Regions from separate parts of the Homo sapiens genome. Here region 2 is linked to region 1. The links are contacts of gene promoters, found by promoter capture Hi-C in human tissues and cell types (Jung and others, 2019). All regions are on one chromosome and are shown on one strand. Each heading gives the region's core, a stretch centred on a gene start or on the middle of the fragment in contact. The rest is flanking DNA. Distances are from core to core; before and after follow the strand shown. Region 1 holds the start of ARHGAP20 (Rho GTPase activating protein 20). Region 2 overlaps FDX1 (ferredoxin 1).

Region 1 (6,167 bases), core at 1,363-3,862:
ATCAATAAATGTTACCTACAGTGGATGCCCCATGTGTATGGTTGGTGTGTGGAGGTAGCTAGATAAGGAGAAATAAAGTCAGGAAGATTTTTCTAAGGTAATTATTGATTCAAATCTGGGAGATTTATTTCCTCAACAAATATTTACTGGGCATTTACTATGCACCAAGTATTAGATATTTAAGTGTAAAGTAATAGGGGTTGGAAATATAGAAGGAAAACTTCCCACGCAATGCAAACAGCAGGTTCAAAGTCACAAAGATGTGAGAAGGCAAGGCGAGTTCTTGGAAGGTGACTTCTTGGCGAATTCAATGTGACAGGGAATAGGGTGAGAGTTGAAGAGGAGCAATAAATGACAAGAGAAATAAGTGGAGGCAAGGATGTCTGTTTATAGGCAGTCTTGCATATCATACTATGGCATTTGAAATTTATTCTGTAAACACAAGGAGCCAAAGAAGGGTTTAATCAGGGGAGTGATGTGATCAAATTTGTGTTCTTAAAACACGATTCTGGTGATAGCATTAATCTGAGCAAAGTCAGTTTTCTTTAGGTATGGGACAGTTTTCTATGCAAACCAAAACTAATGGGTTTTGAAGTAAAAGCACTTAAAAATTAAGAAGTAAGAGTGAGTTTTCCAAATCTGCAGTAAAATACTACTTTGATTTGGAACATGTAGTATTGATCACAGATCAAACCTGTGCAAAAAAGAAGATCACAAACAGAAACATGGGACACTCTGAGTGAAACAACCAACTCTACCAGTCTGGCCCTTCTAAGATCTATCTCATAACCCTTGTATGCCTCATTAATTCCCTTAGCAAACGAACATTTATTGCACCAGACACTGCTTCAAGCACTTGGTATACGACAAAGAACAACAATAACAACAACAACAACAAAAGCCCACAAAAGATTCCTGCCCTCTGGAAGCTTGCATTTCTCTGAGATATAGATAATAAACACTAAACATACTAAGTAAATTACATGATATATTAGAAGGAGATAAGTGTTATCGAAATAAAACAGAGTAAGGAAAATTGGGAGCGTGCATTTATGATAGGAACCAAAAGAGGCTAACGAGTTGTAAGTGGATGATTTCAGCAAGGAATGAAAGGAACTGCAAAGCCCTCTGCGTGTAGAATTCATGACAAACTCTATGGTGGGGGCAAAGTCCTGTCGCTGCACATGGGTCTCAGCTGCAAAAAGAGAGTAGCCATGAAAAACTGTGTGTGTATATGCACACATACATAAACACAATAATAGATGATTTACAAATCATACATGTGATTTATACGTGTGTGTGATTTATACGTGTGTGTGATTTATAAAGCCTATGTAAGCCTACTTTAAACAGTGTGAGGTGGACAAGGCTTAAAACGGGCTGGAACATTTTCCCCCTATTATTTCCACAATAAACCATTCCTGGGCATGGTGGTGATGTGTGCGCGCGCGAGTGTGTGTTGGACAGCATCCCTTCCTTGGAACAGAGCCGGCCAGAGCCCTATTCTTCTACAACCTGTCCTAATAACAGCCTAACCTGGCAGGAACCTCGATTTTTTTCTTCTTACCACAAAAGCAAACCAAACCCCTTCCACAACCTAATATCATAGCGTGGTGTCCTTCCTCACTAATCCGCCACTGCTTCTCTAGTCCTGACTCCAAGGGAAGAATGCCATCTACCGAATCATCCGTACCAGTCAACCAGCCCCGCAAAGTGCAGCAACACTCAGCTCAACGCGGGTCAGCTCCAAATCCTCTCCCTCTGATTATTCTTTGGCCTTTAAAATATTTTTGCCTCTATTTGGGCTGACAGGAAGTTATGCTCTCGGCGCAGATATCTGATAAACACTTCCACATATTGTAGCCTTCTCAATAGCTTAGCCAAATTTCGGCGTCCTCGCTCTGTCTGCATTTTCCTTCATTGCTCTTTCACGTTTGGAATGCCCCCGTCTCTGCAGCCTGCAGACAGCGGAAACCGCGGGTGCAAATGTGCAGGGGCCGCTGACATGACCGGCTGCAGAAGCCCACTCAGGGTTACCCGAACAGGCTAGCGTTCGGGATTGCACAAGAGGTCAGGCGATGCTGTGGGCTTCCAAATTTGTACAGCTGCGACACTCTGCGACGTGCCACCCTATCCCCAGTGGGGTGGGGTGGGGGATTCCCTCCGCAGTCCGCTGAAAGCGAGGCAGGAATCACTGCAACTCCTCTGCTCAGGCTGAGGTCGCCACCGCTCCGCGGATGCACGCGCTGCAGGGGCGCCTTCCGCCGCGGGCACGGCGCGGGAAGGGATGGGGTCTGGTGGGAGTGGGCAGGTGGCGGGAGAGGCGCGTGTCCGTGCACTAGAGGCCCCCGTGCGTGACACAGGCCGATGAGCTCCTGCGGGCTGCACCCACGCGGAGTCACAGACCGAAAAGGTCAGCCGGTGGCCGGTGTGCTAACATATATAGAGAGACGCCCGCCAGGCGCGCCGCAGGCTGGGACGAGGCTAGGAGGGCCCAGGCTGGAGGAGGGCTGAGGAGGGCTGCGGGGGCGGGCCCCGGCGCAGGGCGCCCGGAGCGGAGGGGGCGGGCCCGAGGCGGGGCGGGCCGCGGCGCTGACGGGCTGTCGCCGCTGCACTCGCCTCCAGCCCGCGGTGTCGAGCGCAGGCGGAGGTACATGGCCCCGACGGGAGGCGCGCGGCGAGCACCCGGAGCTCGGCTCCCTGCCTGAGCACGGCAGCCGCGCCTCCGCCCGCGCGTCCTCGCCCCTCCGGCCGGCAGCCCGCGGACATGATCGTGTAGCCTCCTCCTGGGCTGGGATTTGTTTGAAGATTTTCTTCATGGAAGCGATGTCCCCCCAGCAGGAGACTCTAGGGGGACAGCCGGGGCGCTCCTCTTCCCTGACAGGAGTGTCTCGGCTCGCGGGAGGCAGCTGCACCAAGAAGGTGAGGACGCTGAGCGGGGGCCCGTGCCCTCCGCCGCCGCAGCCCCCACTGCCGGCGCGCGCCCTCCGCGCCCGCCACAGCAGCGCGCTAGGCGGACGCCGCGGGAATTTGACGCTCGAGGCTCGCGGCCCCTAATGAGAGTCCCAGAACACTTCCCGCCCTTGACGGCCAGCGGCAGCGCCGCCGCCTCCCGCAGAGCGCCCGCTTCTCCGTTTCTAGAGCCTTAGTCTCTCCTCGAGCGACCTCGCAGCCTCCCTCCCGTCTCCATCCGCCGCCGGTTCTGCAGCCCGGCTCCTCCCTCAGTCTAGGCGCGCGGGCTGTAGTGGGCGATCGCCTTTCCCCGACCCCTCGCCGTGCCCCTGGGCCTCCCGAAGTGGCCTGGGCGAGCACTGACTGCCCTTTGGCGGTGTCAGCCCCAAAGTCAGGGCCGGCGATGTCTGCCCGGGAGCGGCAGCCGGCGCTGAAGAAGGTAGGCAGCGGGGCTGCGGCGCTGGTGGGCTCGGCCCCCTCACCTGCCCGCCGAGGCGCGGCTGCTCCATAGCAGTTTTCGGGGGGCAGATATGGGGAGTACTGCCCCCCACACCAGGGTCCTGGATGATTCCGGGTCTCCCAGGTGGGGGTCACAGTTTGAGGGGCGACTGTGGATGATAACGCTCGACACTACGGGGACATGTAGGTTCGGCTGGGCCTAGAACCGAGCAGGGTGGGGGCGGGTGGGCTGTGGTTGGGGGTCCTGAGGGCTGAGGTGGGGGACCTTCTCCCTGCACTGGTCCCTGGCCCCTGGGACTCTGGCCGGGCTGGATAGGGATCCGGGTGTCGGTGTGGGCGTGGGGGCAGCGCGTGTTCCCTGTCAAAGCTGGGAGAGGGATGCAGGTGACAACTTGTAGCGTTCCATTCCGATAAACACGGCCGCTGTGCTGCGGGAGGATTCCGATCCGGGTCAGGTTTCGCTGGAACGGTTCCCTGAGCAAGTGCACGTGGGCCGCGGGCTGCCGGCCTCTGCCGTTTCGCTCCCTGAGGAATTGATTTGGGTGTTTCTAGCCCTGTCTGCCTGTCCCCCGCCTCCCCACCCCCGCTTCCAGCATAAGACTTTCCGATATTTTGCCTTTTTTTTTTTTTTTGCCTTGTCTTAGTGGTGCCCTTCCAGCTTTTCTGGAAACAAGTTGCGATTAGAGGCATCTTCTAGCTTTTCCTTAAGAAATATCTTAAGGGATTGCATTTGTTTCATTAGAGACTTAAAGGGGTTACGCAGGTTCCCTGCTTGTCTTGATTTTACTGCCTTTCATAAATCTTCCCACCAGGATCTTAGGTTGGCTAGAGGTCAGTTGAAGAGAGGTGATCGGTGTGCCGAGTATAGAAATGTGTGGGAGTTCCCAAGGACCTTGACCGTGTCACGGAGCCATCTAGGGGTGTCCGTGAACTTGATGATGTATGGGCTGTAGTGCCAGCTCAGCCTTTGATGTATTGAGGCTGCGGTTTGTCCTTGTCGCTTTTCCCCTTCGGAGATGGAGGGAGTGTGTGTGTGTGTAGTCAAGTCTTCCCAAATAAAACGTGAATTTATCAGGCTAGCCCTACATTTACTGACATAAATTTTAAAACTTAAAGCATTTTATTTTTGTAAACGTAAGGAATTGGAAGAAAATCAAAGATTTATTTTTCTGAACAGTTTTTTCTTTTTTTCTTTTTTTTTTACTAAGGGTATAACACTGCCAAAGGGAGGAAGCATTAAAGAGGAGCTTTATTATCATTTATCAAGTAATACTTGTCCAATAAATGAAGGGTTGCTTCGCTCTTTTCCCACATTCTTTTTACTTATCATAGCCACCGTCCTTAAGATGCTGTCGTTTGTTATGAAACTTAACAGGTTCACACATTAACAAACCAGTACCTACCTTTCCAACATCGTTGGGAAGATTAAATGTGAAATTCAGTGAATAATGACATATAATAGACATTTAATAAATGTTAGCACTTACTGTTTGCAACATCCCTATATCTGTAATTCATACCTTTGTGTCCCAGTTGTTCAAGCCAAAAATCTAGGATTCGTTTTCAACTCATTTCCTCTCTCTGCACCAACCAATCCATCAGGGAAGCTATTGTCAATCCGAACGTGTCTTGAATTTCTCCACTTCATCTCCACTGTTGCCAGTGTAGTCCAAGCCAAGCCGCCATCTCTCACTTGTACCTTTGCAGAAATGTCTTAACTTGCCTAACACCTTTCTTGCCCTTCTTTGATCCAGTCACCACTTTGCACCAGAATAATCTTTTAAAATGTAAATTAATCATGTTGCTTACCTGCTTAAAATCCTGCAGTGGCTTTTCATCCATTTATAATAAAATTCAGACCCCTTTTTCTTGGCCCTGTCTACTTCTGCCACCTCATCTATGCATCCCCCCCTTGTTTGTGTATTCTCCAACCACATGGGCCTTCTTCCTCTTCATATTTCAAGTCATCAAATTCATTCTTATTTTGAGGCCTTGATGGTGTTTCTCTGTGCTTCAGCCCCAGGTCTTTGCAGTCCTGACTTTCATATTATTGTCAGATCGTAGGTTCTAGCAGAGGCCTGCCATTGACTACCTAAGTGGAAGTGCTCCTCAGTCATTCTCTATACCTTCTGCTTTATTGTCATCTTAGCATTCATCCTGGCCTGATATTTTCTTATTTACTTGCTTGTTATCTGTTACCCACATCTGTCACCAGATTGAAAACTATGATAATAGGGACCTTATCTGTATTGCTTAGGGCTGCCTCTCCAGCACCTAGAATAGTGTCTGCTATATATTAGATTTTCCGTAAATATTAGTTGGGTTATGTACAGCAGTGAACAGGACAGATATGGCCCCGTCCTCAGAATTTATGGCTCAGAGCAGGGTCAGCAAACCTTTATTTAAAGGACCAGATACTAAATATTTAAGGTTTGTAGGCCCTTTGTTACAGGCTACTCAGTTCTGCCATTATAGTGCTAAAGCAGCCATAGACAATGAAGAAATGAATGGGCATAGCTGTGTTGTAATAAAACTTCGTTTAGAGAAACAAGTGGTGAGTCTCTGTGGTGTAGTTTCCTCTCTCCTAATTAGGGGAGAGTAGTGCCACTGAGTGGTACATTGTGTAATGATGGAACGCCTTTATCTACAGTGTCCATTCAGTAGCCACTAGCTACATGTAGCTATTGAGCTCTTGAAATGTGGCTGGCATGACTGAGAAACTAAACATTTTTTAACAGCTTCATTGAAGTATAATT
Region 2 (7,038 bases), core at 4,281-6,780, 270 kb after region 1:
GAGACAAAGAACAATGAGAAAAAAACAAAAAAGAGGAAGAGTGGCAGATGGGGCCAGATAATGCAGAGCCTTTTACGGCTGGGAATACAGATTTTATCCTATGTGCAAAGGAAGACACTCATGGTTTTTTGTTTGTTTGTTTGAAGGAGTCTCACTTTGCTGCCAGACTGGAGTACAGTGGTGCAATCTCGGCTCACTGCAACCTCCGACTCCCTGGTTCGAGGAATTCTCCTGCCTCAGCCTCCCAAGTAGCTGGGATTACAGGCATGCACCACCATGCCCAGCTGGGTTTTTTTTTTTTTTTTTTTTTTTTTTTTTTGTATTTTTAGTAGAGACGGGGTTTCATTATGTTGGCCAGGATGGTCTCAATCTCTTGACCTCGTGATCCGCCCATCTCGGTTTTTTTTTTTTTTTTCCAAGATGGAGTCTTAGTCTGTAACCCAGGCTGGAGTGCAATGGTGCAATCTCAGCTCACTGCAACCTCTGACTCCTGGGTTAAAGCAATTCTCCTGCCTTGGCCTCCCCAAGTAGCTGAAATTACAGGTGCACGCCACCACACCTGGCTAATTTTTGTATTTTTAGTAGAGACGGGTTTTCACCATGTTGCCCAGGCTGGTCTCAAACTCGTGACCTTGTGATCTGCCCACCTAGGCCTCCCAAAGTGCAGGGATTACAGGCGTCAGCCACTGTGCCTGGCCCACTCATGGCTTTTAATCAGGGGACTGACATGTCTGATTTCTGTTAGGACAAATTACCTGGCTGTTAAACTCCAGAGCAGAAGCAGGTTAGCACAGCTCCAGGCGCCCAGTGGCTGGCCAGCCCCTCGTGCCGACTGTAGGGATGGAGCCAACAGGACATGCTGGAGGCGAATCTTGGGGGCACAACTGGCAGGAGGTGCCGATGGACTGGATGTCAGGTTGGGAAGAAAGAGGAAGGAATGGTGCTCTACGGTTTCAGGTTCGAGCAGCCGGGTGGTGCTCATTACTGAGGTAGGAAAGACTCGAGGAAGGACAGGTTTCATCAGGAGGAAAAAAGGCAAAAGCTGTTTTAAATATGTTAGATTTCCAAGAAGTGATGTAAAGCAAGAAGTTAGATCTGTAAATCAGGGCTCAGAGGAGAGGTCTGAGCTAAGGATGTAAATTTAAGAGTTTATCAATATCTAGAAAGGATTTAAGGTCACAGAACGGATGAGATCACCCAGGGAGAAACTGTAAAGAAACTAAGTACTTCGGTCAGCCATGTTTGGAGTACGGTGTTCATCTGTATGACTTATGACAAATGCAGTGTTTAGATGGGCTCCTGCATTCAGCCTTAGGAATTAATGAAACAGCTGCCCCCATAATGTTGTGGTAATAAGCTCTTCTTTATAATGATAACATTGCACCCTTCCTGATTTCATTTCTCTCATCTTTATTCTAGAAAGAAGCTTAGGCTTAACTCTGTCTTTGGTGAATCTAGTTTAGCTTACTTATCTCAAGCTTATCTTTAAATACAAAGATTTGTGGACATGTCAGGATACTTGATCTTTAAAGCTTTTCTTCTGAGTCTGAATACGCGAATTTCTATGATACCAGCAGAATTTTTAAATTTACATTAAATTTTCTATATTTCTTGGGTATTCGGAAAAAAGATTATTTCAGTGCTTATCTCTGTGTGATGATATGAAGTGTTAAATTCTTTTTAAATGTATTTTTAAAATTTGCTATAATGAACAATGAATCTGTATTAATACCTATGTTAACAATATTAGCTAATATTTATTTAGGACTTGCTTGGATTTACTCATTTGATCTTTACAGCAACTTTATGAGGTAGATATTAATATTATCCCTGCTTTACAGATGAAAAGATGAGTTATGAGTAGGTTAGATACCCAACCCAAGGTCACAAAGCTGAAAAAGGGATACAGCTGGGAAAGAAGCCCAGGCAGGACATTCTTCCATTCCAACCAATGACTTTCAGAAAAAACTTTATTTAACTGTGACTCACAGTACGAATTTCATTTTACATCATGACCCAGTACATATATACTTGTAAAATAGCTAAATAAACATTTCCTAAGATAATACCCTTGCAAAAGATGATATGTTTTTATATGTTCTTTTTGATTTCTTTAAAATGCTAGTTGGGAGTGACTAAATTGATTTCATGACCTTGTAATAGTTGTCACCTGCGGTTTAAAAAAAACTGTACTGTAATATATAGTCACAAGTGATGAAGAAAAAAATACTTTTAAAAACTTAAAAGAATACTTTCAAGTATTAAGATCATAATACTTATGTTTTAATTTAGAAGAAATTAATATAAAGCAATCCACACAAATTATTTATGCAAAAAGCATTTTACACTATTTTGAGAATATGTAACTTCATGTAAAATAGCAGTTGGAAGCCATTTAAATAAATGTTTAAAATTTTCATCTTCACAATTTTTATCAAATAGGACATTTAAAGAGCTTTTGCTAACCTATAAAAATAAACAATACCTCATCAGAAAAATAAGCAAATAATACTGCCCAAAGCAATTTACAGATTCAACACTATTCCTATCAAACTACCAACATCATTTTTCACAGAATTATAAAAAAACTATTCTAAAATTCATATAGAATTGATGCAGGGTAGACAGGCCCCAAAATTGGGGCTTAGCCCAGGAAGGTTCTTAGCTTTGCCCAGGAAACGATTCAGGGCGGGTCGGTCGTGTTAAATAGCAACTTTCATTGAAGCAGCAGCATACAGCAGCAGCAGAAGTAGGACTCCTTGTGGAGCACAGCTATCCCATAGGCAGTGTGCCCAGAGTGAGGCAGCTCAGAGGTTGTTCTGCAAATATATATATATATATATACGTGTATATATATATATATATATACGTATATATATATATATACGTATATATATATATATACGTGTATATATATATATATATACGTATATATATATATACACACACACACACACACATATATTTTCTTTTTTTTTTGAGACAGTCTTGCTCAGTCACCCAGGGTGGAGTACAGAGGCACAATCTCAGCTCACTGCAACCTCCGCCTCCCAGATTCAAGTGATTCTGGTGCCTCAGCCTCCCAAGTAGCTGGGACTACAGGTGTATGCCACCACACCTGGCTAATTTTTGTATTTTTAGTAGAGATGGGGCTTCACCATGTTGGCCAGGCTAGTCTCAAACTCCTGACCTCAAGTGATCTGCCTGCCTTGGCCTCCCAAAGTGCCAGGATTACAGGCATGAGCCAACGCGCCCGGACAGCACTTACTCTTTTTAAGAGACTCCGTATTCAATAATGGTGCTGGGATGCCTGGCTAGCCATAGGCAGAAGTCTGAACTTGGACTCCCTACCTTTCACCATACACAAAAATTAACCCAAAATGGATCAAAGATTTAAATTTAAGACCTCAAACTATAAAAAAGACAATCAAGGAAATACTCTTCTAGACATTGGATTGGCAAAGGATTTTTGGCTAAGTCTCCAAAAGCAATTGCAACAAAAGCAAAAATTGGTAAGTGGGATCTAATTAAACAAAGAGCTTCTAGACAGCAAAAAAAACTATCAACAAAGTAAACAGACAACCTACAGAGTGGGAGAAAATATTCACCAACTATGCATCTAACAAAGGTCTAATATCCAGAATCTATAGGGAACTTAAATCAATAAGCAAAAAACAACCTCATTAAAAAAATAGGCAAAGGACATGAACAGACACTTCTCAAAAAAAGCCATACAAGCAGCCAACAAACATGAAAAAAATGCTCCACATCACTAATCATCAGAGAAATGCAAATCAAAACCACAATGAGATACCATCTCACACCAATCAGAAAGGGCATTAGCTGTTGGCCAAGGCGTAGTGGCTCACACCTGTAATTCTAGCACTTTGGGAGGCCAAGGCAGGCGGATCACTTGAGGTCAGGAGTTCGAAACCAGCCTGCCCAACATGGTGAAACCCCGTCTCTGCTAAAAATATTTTAAAAATTAGGTGGGCGTGGTGGTAGACACCTGTAATCCCAGCTACTCAGGAGGCTAAGGCAGGAGAATCACTTGAACCAGGGAGGCAGAGGTTGCAATGAGCCGAGATCGTGCCATTGCATTCCAGCCTGGGCAAAAAGAGCAAAACTACGTCTCAAAAAAAAAAAAAAAAAAAGGATATTATTAAGTCCAAAAACCACAGACGGCATGTTAAATGATGTGGTGGGGAGGGAAGATAATCTAAATCCCATCATCTTTTTTTATACCAAAGATGCTAGTGCTGAAAGCTTTACATAATTTAAAACTTGAGACATTTTCCTACAGAAAAAAAAAAGGTAGCGGGGCAGGGCAGGGGTAAAGATGAATTTTCAGCACCCATAAACATCAGCCATTGCAGACTGAGGTACACTGCCACAGTTTTGTGTCTTCAACTATGTAACCAATTGTATTAGTCCATTTTCATGCTGCTGATAAAGACATACCTGAAACTGGGTAATTTATACAGGAAAAAGGGTTTAATGAACTTACAGTTCCACAATGGCTGGGGAAGCCTCACAATCCTGGCAGAAGGCAACGAGGAACAAGTCACATCTTACATGGATGGCGTCAGGCAGAGAGCTTGTGCAGGGAACCCCCCTCCCCTTATAAAACTGTCAGATATTGTGAGTCTTATTCACTGTCAGGAGAACAGCATGGGAAAGACCTGCCCCCAAGATTCAATTACCTACCACTGGGTCCCTCCCACAACCCGTGGGAATTCAAGATGAGGTCTGGATAGGAGGGGACATGGCTAGACCATATCATTCTGCCCCTGGTCCCTCCCAAATCTCATGTCCTCACATTTCAAAACCAATCATGCCTTTCCAACAGTCTTAACTCTTTTCAGCATTAATTCAAAAGTCCACAGTCCAAAGTCTCATCCAAGATAAGGCAAGTCCCTTCTGCCTATGAGCCTGTAAAATCAAAAGCAAGTTAGTTACTTCCTAGATACAATGGGGGTACAGGCATTGGGTAAATATAGCTATTCCAAATGGGAGAAATCGGTCAAAACAAAGGGGCTACAGACCCCATGCAAGTCCAAAATCCAGCAGGGCAGTCAAATCTTAAAGCTCCAAAATGATCTCCTTTGACTACATGTCTCACATCCAGGTCACACTGATGCAAGAGCTGGGTTCCCATGGTCTTGGGCAGCTCCACCCCTGTGGCTTTGCAGGATACAGCCTCCCTCCTGGCTGCTTTCATGGGCTGGCATTGAGTGTCTGTGGCTTTTCCAGGCATATCATGCAAGCTGTCAGTGGATCTACCATTCTGAGGTTTGGAGGGCAGTGGCCCTCTTCGCACAGCTCCACTAGGCGGTGCCCCAATAGGGACTCTGTGTGGGGGCTCCAACCCCACATTTCCCTTCTGCACTGCCCTAGCAGAAGTTCTCCATGAGAGCCCTGCCCTGCAAAAAACTACTGCCTGGAACATCTAGGCATTTCCATACATCCTCTGAAATCTAGGCGGAGGTTCCCAAGCCCCAGTTCTTGACTTCTGTACACTAGCAGGCTCAATACCACATGGAAGCTGCCAAGGCTTGAGGTTTGCACACTCTGAAGCCACGGCCCTAGCTCTACATTGGCCCCTTTCAGCCACAGCTGGGACAGCTGGGACACAGAGCACCAAGTCCCTAGGCTGTACACAGCAAGGGGGCCCTGGGCCCAGCCCACAAAACCACTTTTTCCTCCTAGGCTTCCAGGCCTGTGATGGGAGGGGCTGCCATGAAGATCTCTGACATGCCCTGGAGACATTTTCCCCAGTATCTCAGGGATTAACTTTCAGCTCCTCATTCCTTACCCAAATTTCTGCAGCCAGCTTGAATTTTTCCCCAGAAAATGGGGTTTTCTTTTCTATCACATTGTCAGGCTGCAAATTTTCCAAACTTTTTTATGCTGTTTCCTTTTAAAACTGAATGCCTTTAACAGCACCCAAGTCACCTCTTGAATGATTTGCTGCTTAGAAATTTCTTCTGCCAGATACCCTAAGTATCATCTCTTAAGTTCAAAGTTCCACAAATCTCTAGGGCAGGGGCAAAATGCGCTAGTCTCTTTGCTAAAACATAGCAAGAGTCACCTTTACTCCAATTCCCAACAAGTTCCTCGTCTCCATCTGAGACCACCTCAGCCTGAATTTCATTGTCCATATCGTTATCAGCATTTTGGCCAAAGCCATTCCACAAGTCTCTAGGGAGTTCCAAACTTTCCCATATTTTCCTATCTTCTCCTGAGCCCTCCAAACTGTTCCAATGTCTGCCTGTTACCTGGTTCCAAAGTTGCTTCCACATTTGGGGTATCTTTTCAGCAGCACCCTACTCCTCGTACCAATTTGCTTTATTAGTCCATTTTCACACTGCTGACAAAGACATATCCGAAACTGGGTAATTTATACAGGAAAAAGTGTTTAATGGACTTACAGTTCCATGTGGCTGAGGAAGCCTCACAATACTGGCAGAAGGCAAGAAGAAGCAAGTCATATCTTACATGGATGGCAGCAGGCATGCAGAGAGCTTGTGCAGGGAAACTCCCTCTTATAAAATTGTCAGATCTTGTGAGATTTATTCACTGTCACAAGAACAGCATAAGAAAGACCTGCCCCCAGGATTCAATTACCTCCCACTGGGTCCCTCCTATAACAGGTGGGAATTCAAGATGAGATTTGGGTGTGGACACAGCCAGACCACCAGTATTGTTTTCCATTACCCTTCACCAAGTGATTTTTTTGTGAGCTTAAAAATATTCCTACCGTAATGTCTTTTTAAAATCCTATTTTCTAAGTACTTTTGTCTTTACAGTATCTACACCTAAATTAACAGCACCAAACGTCAGGCTGATTGTTTAGCCTTTTTTTGTGTTAGATCATGTTTAGCATCCATTCCAATGTTATTGATTTGGGACATATTTCAGTACCACACCATCACTAAATGAAAGTTTAGTTAACACTGTTATGAGATATTAAGATTTAAATTTTTTCAACAGCACAACAGCCACAACTTCCAATGCACACAAACAATAGCATGGTTT

What was found. The method cuts DNA at HindIII sites, captures the fragments that hold promoters and counts their contacts. A contact is called where the count stands out against the background at its distance.
Region 2: a fragment that was not itself captured here is called in contact with the fragment with the promoter of ARHGAP20 in region 1 in 1 of the 25 tissues and cell types used here (H1 embryonic stem cells).

The regions. Positions count from the first base shown.
Region 1 is chr11:110,708,882-110,715,048 of GRCh38, reverse strand. ARHGAP20 (Rho GTPase activating protein 20) reads left to right here and starts at 2,612. Exons shown (of 15, transcript NM_001384657.1): 1 at 2,612-2,922. The coding sequence starts at 2,818. RefSeq lists silencers at 2,501-2,660, 2,681-2,740 and enhancers at 2,264-2,765, 3,748-4,393. The HindIII fragment of the contact is 8,017 bases long and covers 1-6,167 here.
Region 2 is chr11:110,440,555-110,447,592 of GRCh38, reverse strand. All of the region lies in intron 2 of FDX1 (ferredoxin 1), which reads right to left. Among named protein-coding and RNA genes, the nearest start is that of FDX1, 14 kb to the right of the region's middle. The HindIII fragment of the contact is 5,261 bases long and covers 2,900-7,038 here.